Linked DNA regions of Homo sapiens: region 1 is linked to region 2. Evidence: promoter capture Hi-C in human tissues and cell types (Jung and others, 2019). All regions are on one chromosome and are shown on one strand. Each heading gives the region's core, a stretch centred on a gene start or on the middle of the fragment in contact. The rest is flanking DNA. Distances are from core to core; before and after follow the strand shown.

Region 1 (4,343 bases), core at 468-2,967, 550 kb after region 2:
ATTATACTTCAATAGAAAGAGAAAACTGTATGAAAGATTAAATATCATGCAGCCATTAAGGGTCCTATTTTCAAAGATTATATAATGATTTAGGCAAATAATTGCAGGCCTAACCGTTAAAAAGAAAAGATTGTAAGAAATAAGTCAGAGTGTAATCTCTACAATGCAGTTATTTTTGGGAGGATTGAGGTTTTTTGTTTTGCTTTTTTTTTTTTTTTTTTTTTTTGAGATGGAGTCTCAGTCAGTTTCTCAGGCTGGAGTGCAGTGACATGATCTTGGCTGACGACAGCCTCTGCCTCCCGGGTTCAAGTGATTCTCCTGCCTCAACCTCCCAAGTAGCTGGGAATGTAGGTGTGCACCACCACGCCCAGCTAACTTTTGTATTTTTAGGTGAGATGGGGTTTTGCCACGTTGGCCAGGCTGGTCTCGAACTCCCGACCTCAAGTGATCTGCTTGCCCTGACCTCTCAAAGTGCTGGGATTATAGGCGTGAGCCACTGCACCCAGCTTGAGGTTTTTTTTTTTTCTCTTTGTGCCTATTTGTTACTCAGTTTTCCTAAAATGAGTACATACTTCTTTTATAGGTAGGAAAATTAAAAAGATCCAAAAGGGACCAGGTACAGTGTCTCACGCGTGTAAGTCCAACACTTTGAGAGGGTGAGATGGGGCATCTATTGAGCCCAGTAGTTTGAGACCAGCCTTGGAAACATAGGAAGACCCCATCTCTACAGAAAAACTTTAAAATTAGCTGGGCATGGTGGCCCGTACCTGTAGTTACAGCTACTTGGGAGGCTGAGGTGGGAAGTCAAGGCTGCAGTGAGCCAAGATCGCACCACTGCACTCCAGCCTGAGCAACACAGTGAGACTTTGTCTCAAAAAAAAAAAAAAAATTGTGCGGACACACACACACACACACAATTTGTTTTGCTTCCCTAGAGACTATATTATATATGGCATTTCACGTTAACTTTTGATATACGCTGTAATTTTAAATGACTATTTTGTAGAATATACTTCTTTAAAATATGGAGTCCTAGATTAGGCAAAATCATCCATATGTAACTTCAGCTGTGAAGACCAACAGTGAATGTCTCTGTTCTAAGATAACAAAAAGCTGCCTTAGTAATTCTTACAGGACTACCACACTGTTGCATAGTCATAAGCTTTTGGTTACAACACAAACTCTTGGAATAAATCAAACAACTAGTGCAATTCAGTATAATAGGATTATTCTTGAGTCTAAAATTAGTGTATTATTACTCTGGATCATTGAACCTTTATCTTCTCTTTGAGACAGTCTCACTGTGTCACCCAGGCCCAAGTGCAGTGGTGCAATCTCAGCTCACTGTAACCTCCGCCTCCCAGGCTCAAGCGAGTCTCCCACCTCAGCCTGCTGAGGAGGTGGGACTACAGGCATGTGCCATCATGGGTGGCTAATTTTTTGTATTTTTTTGTGGAGACCGGGTCTCACTGTGTTTCCCTGGCTGGTCTCAAACTCCTGGGCTCAGTCTGCTCACCTTGACTTCCCAAAGTGTTGGGATTACAGGCATGAACCATTATGCGTTGGCCATTGAGCCTTTGTGGTTGCCCATTGAATCTTTTTATCTTAACCACATTGTTGCCTAGGATTATGTGTTTTGGTATTTGAAATTTTCAGTCTTGAAAGAATTTGTGAAATGTAAGTTTGACTATAACACTTCCCTTTTATGCTTTTGTTAGTTTTGTAAGCATATCAGTAGTCAGAACTACTTGGGCAAAAAAGTTGATAAGTCATTATAACATCTCATAGTCATTATAGGAGAAATTCTACAATTTAATCTTTATTGGAACGAGTTTTATATTTGATTTTGTAAAGTTTCCTTTTTCATTGAAACATAAATTATTATCACCAGGCCAAAATTATCTTTCCCATTCTGTGTTTTATTAATTTATAGTCTAAAAGCAGTACTTTCTGTCATTTAAAAACAAATTTTATCAGTTTTAATAAAATGTTTTAGTGCTTTGGGATGACTTTGACTCTGTCTGGTCATTATAGCACTTAAAATGTGTGTCTTTGTTCTTTGGAATTTGATTCTTTTAAATGGGAGAAAAGTTGGAAGTTTTTAGATAATCTTAGGAAAAACTCTTAAAAATCTTTAGCCATGTATAATGTAATTATTCCTCAATAATTCAGCACTTATAAATTCTGGAGAAAAGCATTCCTTTAGGGTAGGAGTAGAAGGAAGATGAGTCTTATTTCTACATTCCTACTTTTGGTTTGTGTCTTTCATGAACCACACCATTATTCACTGAACTCAGTCAATAACCACTTAATGCCTGGCGTCTTATTTCTCTAACGTCAAACATATACTTGCTTCCACATTGCATTTTATAAATGAAAACATGTTTATTGAAGAAAATTCAGGAAGTGAATAAAATTTACTTCCTAAATTTGTGAAAAATTTTTTCATGAAGCAGTATTGGCTTCTAAGATTAAAATAAGTTTAGTTCTTCATTAGAATTTGTTTTGCCTCTTTTAAGGCTCATGCAGCCAACCTCCTTTCCTACTTCCAGGATTTCTATGTCAGTATCTGTCCTGTACCTGTTCCTTTCAGAGGATAGGCAGACTCAGATCTACTTGAAGTTTTAAAGTAATTTCCTTTCCCCTTTCTGCTCCTTATACTTTTGAGGTATGTGGTGTGCTTCCATTAGTGACGTGGTTCATAAGGTCATGATTCTCAATTTGAATGCAAATCATATTGAGAATTTAGGAGAAAATGGTAATGACTTATGAAGAAATAGTTTCATTTAAGAAACATCTTTAAATGCTCTTCACTTGCTTTTTTACCCAGATATTTATAGTGTGTTTTACCTTAAAGATCTTGGATTGGAATTTTTTAAACTTGCAGTTCTTGCCCTAATATGTAAAATGAATTTATACTTCTGAGAAAAAAAGTTTAATGTTTGTGTAATAATATGTCTCTATGCAAGATTCATTAAATCTTTTAGCATTTAAAATTTTAAATGGCTGAATTTCTATAAAAAGAATTACTAAAATTATTTTGTGAATGTTTCTGCTGTTTCAGATCAGTAGTAATTTCACTTCGTCTTCTTCCAAAACTATTTGGTACTTTTCAGCAGTTTGGGAGCAGTTACGATACACACTGGATAACAATGTAAGTAAATAAAAGAAAAAAGTATTTATTTTAAAGATTTTTTTCTAATTATAGTTATCTAAAGGTTTTGACTAACCTACAAGCTTTTACTCTGTACCAGGAAAATTTGAGTTTCATGTGGTTTGTTTTCTTAGATTTTTCTGCCACTTACCCCTGTAGAGATTATATCCTGATCAGTAGGAAAATCTGTGTTTTGTTTTCTTTGGAGTTTGAGAACAGTACTTTAGCAATTAATACTCTAATTTTAGGGAGATTTTTAGCGTATGCAGCTACAGCAGAGTACTTTTGAAGAAGAGCCACACTAAAGTAAACTCTGGCATGCCTTTAATTTTTCCCATTTCTAGGAATTGGCTGTAGACCTAATGTCATGTTTGGGGTAATCTTGACACTACCTTATTACAGGTTGAGTATGCCTAATCTGAAAAATCTAAAATCTGAAATGCTCCATAATCCAACATTTTTGGAGCATCAGTAGGACACTCAAAGGAAATATTCATTGGAGCATTTTGGAATTTGGATTTTTGGATTAGTTATGTTCAACTGCTATGCATTCTGCGAATATTACGGAATCTGAAAAAATTTGAAACACTTCTGGTCTCCAGCATTTTGGATAAGGGATATTCAACTAGTTACTCCATTTATGGAGAACTTATGATTAATGAATGTTACAATAATTCTTCCAGAGGTAGAACTTTTATGTGAAATCGACCCCATGTTTTGGTAATAAGTCTAGAGAAAGTTGTCTACCACAAACAATACATTAAGAAGATGTGTTGTATGCTTTATTCTAAATAAGCTTTTGGAGAGATTTCGGAGACATTTGAATTTTAGGGAAAATTCGACTTGTTGAAGGATTCATTTGTGAGATCAAGTTCTCAATTCTAAGCTTAGGTGGTAAGAACACTTGCTTGCTTTCACAGTGGAGTATCACTTTTATAGTTCTTGGAAGTCTGCACTATAATTCCAGATTAGATGAAGTTAATTCTTCTGAGTCATATACCTTGCTTCTAATTGTTCTTTTAAAGGGAATATGTTTAATCTGGACCTTTATTATTATTTAGAAGTATCTTAGTCTCTTTCTTTGGTTAATACTACAGTAAGAATCCAGTGAAGGTTCTGTTTTTGCAAGGAAGGTCCTTCAGCTTCCAAAAGGAGGGGTAAGGGAAAGCATTTAACATCACTGAAGAAC
Region 2 (4,232 bases), core at 497-2,996:
ACTAAAAATACAAAATTAGCCGGGCATGGTGGTGCATGCCCGTAATCCCAGCTACTGGGGAGGCTGAGGCAGGAGAATCGCTTGAACCCGGGAGGCGGAGGTTGCGGTGAGCCGAGATGGTGCCACTGCTCCAGCCTGGGCAACAAGAGTGAAACTCCGTCTCAAAAACAAACAAAAACAAACAAACAAACAACACCACCACCACCTCATAATTACAAGATTAAGTACCTTTGAACATTTGTTTCTGAACCTACCACACGCAACTGTCACTTTGCAGGTGCTTAATAATTGTGAGCGAACATTCAACAAACCTCATTTCATAAACTTCCCTACTGAAATATAGTGGTCATAGGAGACCAGCAGTTTAGCTCATGGCTTCTGGTCCTTGCTTTGTATTGGAATACTGCTTCTATCTACTGACTCGTTTACCCTGGGCTTCAGTTCCTTCTTTGGGCTCCAGTTCTCTCACCTTTTAAGTAAAGGATTATTGTGAGGACTAAACGAGATATAAAACGTGTAAAGGTTTAGCACTGTGCTTAGCAGATAACGGAAATAAATGATCTTTATTATAATGTTTACGTTCCCTAAGAGTCAGTGGCTACGTCATGCAGGAGACACTAGTGTAGAACAAGCGGGCGGTGGTAACTAGACAGACCTGATTTGGCAGTCTGTCAAACCTCCACCACCCAGTATCAACCAATACGAGATAACTAACCTCGCCTCATTCCAAATCTCCCTTTTCTGACTCCCTTTCAAAATGAACAAAACTGCATAAAATGCAGGTCTATGTGGCCGGGCAAAAACAGACTCAGTCATATCCCTTAGAGAGTTATTCCGGCGCCCACCCCACCTCGCGGATAGATCCAGCCGGAGTTAAAGGAGGGCACCTCCGGGTGGGCGCGGTGGCTCACGCCTGTAATCCCAGTACTTTGAAACGCTGAGGAGGGTGGACCGCTTTGAGCCGGGGAGGTCAGACCAGCCTGGGCAACACAGCGAAACCCAGTCTCGCTATGTTTCGAATACAAAAATTCGCTAGGCATGGTGGCGGGCACCTGTCGTCCTGGCTAGTTGGGAGGCTGTGGCGGGAGGATCGCTTGGGCCCCGGAGGTCGAGGCTGCAGTGAGCCAAGATCGCCCCACTGCACTCCCGCCTGGACGACAGAGCGAGACTCTGTCAAAAAAAAAAAAAAAAAAAAAAAAGGCCGGGCTTCGTGGCTGACGCCTGTAATCCCAACACTTTGGGAGCCCGAGGCGGGTGGATCACCTGAGGTCGGGAGTTCGAGACCGGCCTGGCCAACATGGTGAAACCCTGTCTCTACTAAAAATACAAAAATTAGCTGGGCATGGTGGCGGACGCCTGTAATCCCAGCTACTCGGGAGGCTGAGGAGGATCGCTTGAACCTGGGAGGCGGAGGCTGCAGTGAGCCGAGATTTTGCGCCACTGCACTCCAGCCTGGGCAACAGAGTGAGACTGTATCCAAAAAAAGAAAAAAAAAAAAAAAAAAAGGAGGGGACCTCATAGCCGTGCAAGGTGGAGTGAGGAAATGCGGATGTCCTCACCACTCGCCTTTAAAATCGCGCGTTGTCATTGCTGCCTCGCGTAAAGGTTCCCCCGGCGCTCTTCACCCACAGCGCCCCGGGCGTACAATCTCGCCAGCCCGGAGCCCACCGCACGCATCCTCCTCGCCCGGCGCGCAGCGGACAGCCTCCTACGTCACGCCAGCGCCGCGCGGCAAGGAAGGCCCCCTTCTCCGCCTCCGCCTCCTCCCGACGCCGGCGCCGCTTTCTGGAAGGTTCGTGAAGGCAGTGAGGGCTTACCGTTATTACACTGCGGCCGGCCAGAATCCGGGTCCATCCGTCCTTCCCGAGCCAACCCAGACACAGCGGAGTTTGCCATGCCCGAGAATGTGGCACCCCGGAGCGGGGCGACTGCCGGGGCTGCCGGCGGCCGCGGGAAAGGCGCCTATCAGGACCGCGACAAGCCAGCCCAGATCCGCTTCAGCAACATTTCCGCCGCCAAAGGTATCACTCTCATGGCCTGACCCGCGGCGCCGCGGGGTTGTGCTCTGCGCTCTCATCGTGGGCTTGAGCGGGTTTGGCTCATTTCCCATTTCTTCGGGTGATCCTCTCTTGTCCTCCCTATAGAAGCAGCCCAGTGGAGGGATCCTTATTTCTGTTTTTCTGCCGATGATCGCCAACCCGGAGTATGGAGGCCTTTGGACTTGCCCCATTTTGCATCTTAATCTCCCTTAGTTTTTCATCCTGCACTGTGCATCATTCATATTGGAGCCGAAAGCAGTTCAAAATGCCGAGGATTGCATGCAGTCTTCACTAGGGATCTGACGCTTGAGGGCTGTCGCTTATTGCTTATTGGAACTGGTAGAATGCACAGTATCTTTCAGCTTTGTTATTCTTATTTAAAGAACTATTAAATAAACTTCACTTGGCACAACTGTTGAGACGAATTGGGTGAACTCTCCGAGTCTAAATTGGGGCGGGGCCCATTGTACTGGGATGGATGTGGGAACCGACTTACGTGTCGTGTTTGAAATAGTTGCGGAAAAGTTACGTTGATGTCGTCTCCGCATGTGCAGTGAAACATAGGCAAATCAAGAAACAATTATTTGTTTTTTTTGTGGAAGTGTGTGGCACACGTTGGAAATCAGGAAGACCAGAGTTTCATTCTCTGCTTCCGTTACTTCATGTCTTAGTGACCTGTAACCTCTGTGCCAAAGATTCACTTATAAAATTGGAGGAAAATGTTTGCTTTTTAGAGTTAAGATTAAGAGAAATCGAGTTGAAATAGAAAAATCTGGAAGGAAAAGTCAGGACAGAGGTTTAGAGATCTTGCCCGAGTGTATATTGAGTATAGTAGTTCTTTTGGGTTGGAGAATAGTAGTATGTTTACAGAAGAGGTGAGATTAGAAAGCTAGGTTGGGGCAGATGTTAAAGGCCTGGTGTCCTGGAAAGTATTTGGCTTAATCTCCCCCAGCTATGGGATCATTTCTTTTTAGCCATCGTGTAGGCTTGCTGTGAGGATTCAGTGAGAAAGCATATAAAGACCCACGTATATAAAGTACACCTTACATGTGTTTGCAGTCATCAGCCCAAGTAACTGGGAATGTGATGGCGCTAAGATAGGTAACGCTGGATGTAAGAAAAAGTAATAGTTTCTAACTTGTCCTAATGAGTTGGAAAGGTCAGAATGGCCAGATTTAGGAGTCATTTGTAAGTTTAGGAGATAATACACCTGGAAACGAAGGTTTGTAGGATAATTGTCTAGGGACCATAGTTGAAGCTTACATTTATTAGATTAGGAACAGAATGTTGAAAGATAAATTTTGGGTCGGGCAGGGTGGCTCACGTCTGTAATCCCAGCAATTTGGGAGGCTGAGGCTGGCGGATCACATGAGGTCAGGAGTTCAAGACCAGCCTGACCAACATGGAGAAACCCCGTCTCTACTAAAAATACAAAATTAGGTGGGTGTGTTGGCGTAGGCCTGTAGTCCCAGCTACTCGGGAGGCTGAGGCAGGGGAATAGCTTGAACCTGGGAGGCGGAGGTTGCCGTGAACTGACGTCGCGCCATTGCACTCCAGCCAGGGTGACGAGCGAAACTCCGTCTCAAAAAAAAAAAAAGATAAATTTGGGGGCCAAGAGAGTTTATAATATGGTTGATATTCAACAAACAAAATAAGTGGGAAATTTAGCAACCTTTGAAACAAAAGCAGACAAAGAACTGAAACAACAGAGGAGGGTGTGCATGTGGGAAGGAAAGGCCACCTAAGTTATCTGTGAAGATGACCCGTTATGTCTTAAACTCCTGGCCTCAAGTGACGGCCTGCCTTGGCTTCGCAAAGCGCTGGGATTACAGGCGTGAGCCACCGCACCCGGCCCCAGAGATGTTTTATAACATACTGATGATGACCAAAAGCTATGATTTGAGAGTTTTGGTTTTTGTTTGGTTTGTTAGGTTTGGTTTGTTTGTTGAGATGGAGTCTGTCTTGCTCTGTCCCCCAGGCTGGAGTGCAGTGGTGTGATCTCTGCTCATTGCAACTTCTGCCTCCTGGGTTCAAGCGGTTCTCCTGCCTCAGCCTCCCGAGTAGCTAGCTGGGACTACAGATGCGCACCGCCACACCCGGCTCATTTTTGTATTAGTAGAGGCAGGGTTTCGCCATGTTGTCCAGGCTGGTCTCGAACTCCTGACCTTAGGTGGTCTGCCCGCCTCAGCCTCT

Evidence for each region. The method cuts DNA at HindIII sites, captures the fragments that hold promoters and counts their contacts. A contact is called where the count stands out against the background at its distance.
Region 1: a fragment that was not itself captured here is called in contact with the fragment with the promoter of CCT4 in region 2 in 4 of the 25 tissues and cell types used here (bladder, dorsolateral prefrontal cortex, hippocampus and 1 more).

What each region holds. Positions count from the first base shown.
Region 1 is chr2:61,332,693-61,337,035 of GRCh38, reverse strand. It overlaps USP34 (ubiquitin specific peptidase 34), which reads left to right. Exons shown (of 80, transcript NM_014709.4): 19 at 3,065-3,154. Among named protein-coding and RNA genes, the nearest start is that of SNORA70B, 83 kb to the left of the region's middle. The HindIII fragment of the contact is 6,875 bases long and covers 1-4,343 here.
Region 2 is chr2:61,886,170-61,890,401 of GRCh38, reverse strand. It overlaps CCT4 (chaperonin containing TCP1 subunit 4), which reads left to right and starts at 1,746. Exons shown (of 14, transcript NM_006430.4): 1 at 1,746-2,021. The coding sequence starts at 1,895. It also overlaps a transcript of COMMD1 not described here. RefSeq lists enhancers at 477-1,036, 1,976-2,055, 1,597-2,156, 2,157-2,718. The HindIII fragment of the contact is 14,932 bases long and covers 1-4,232 here.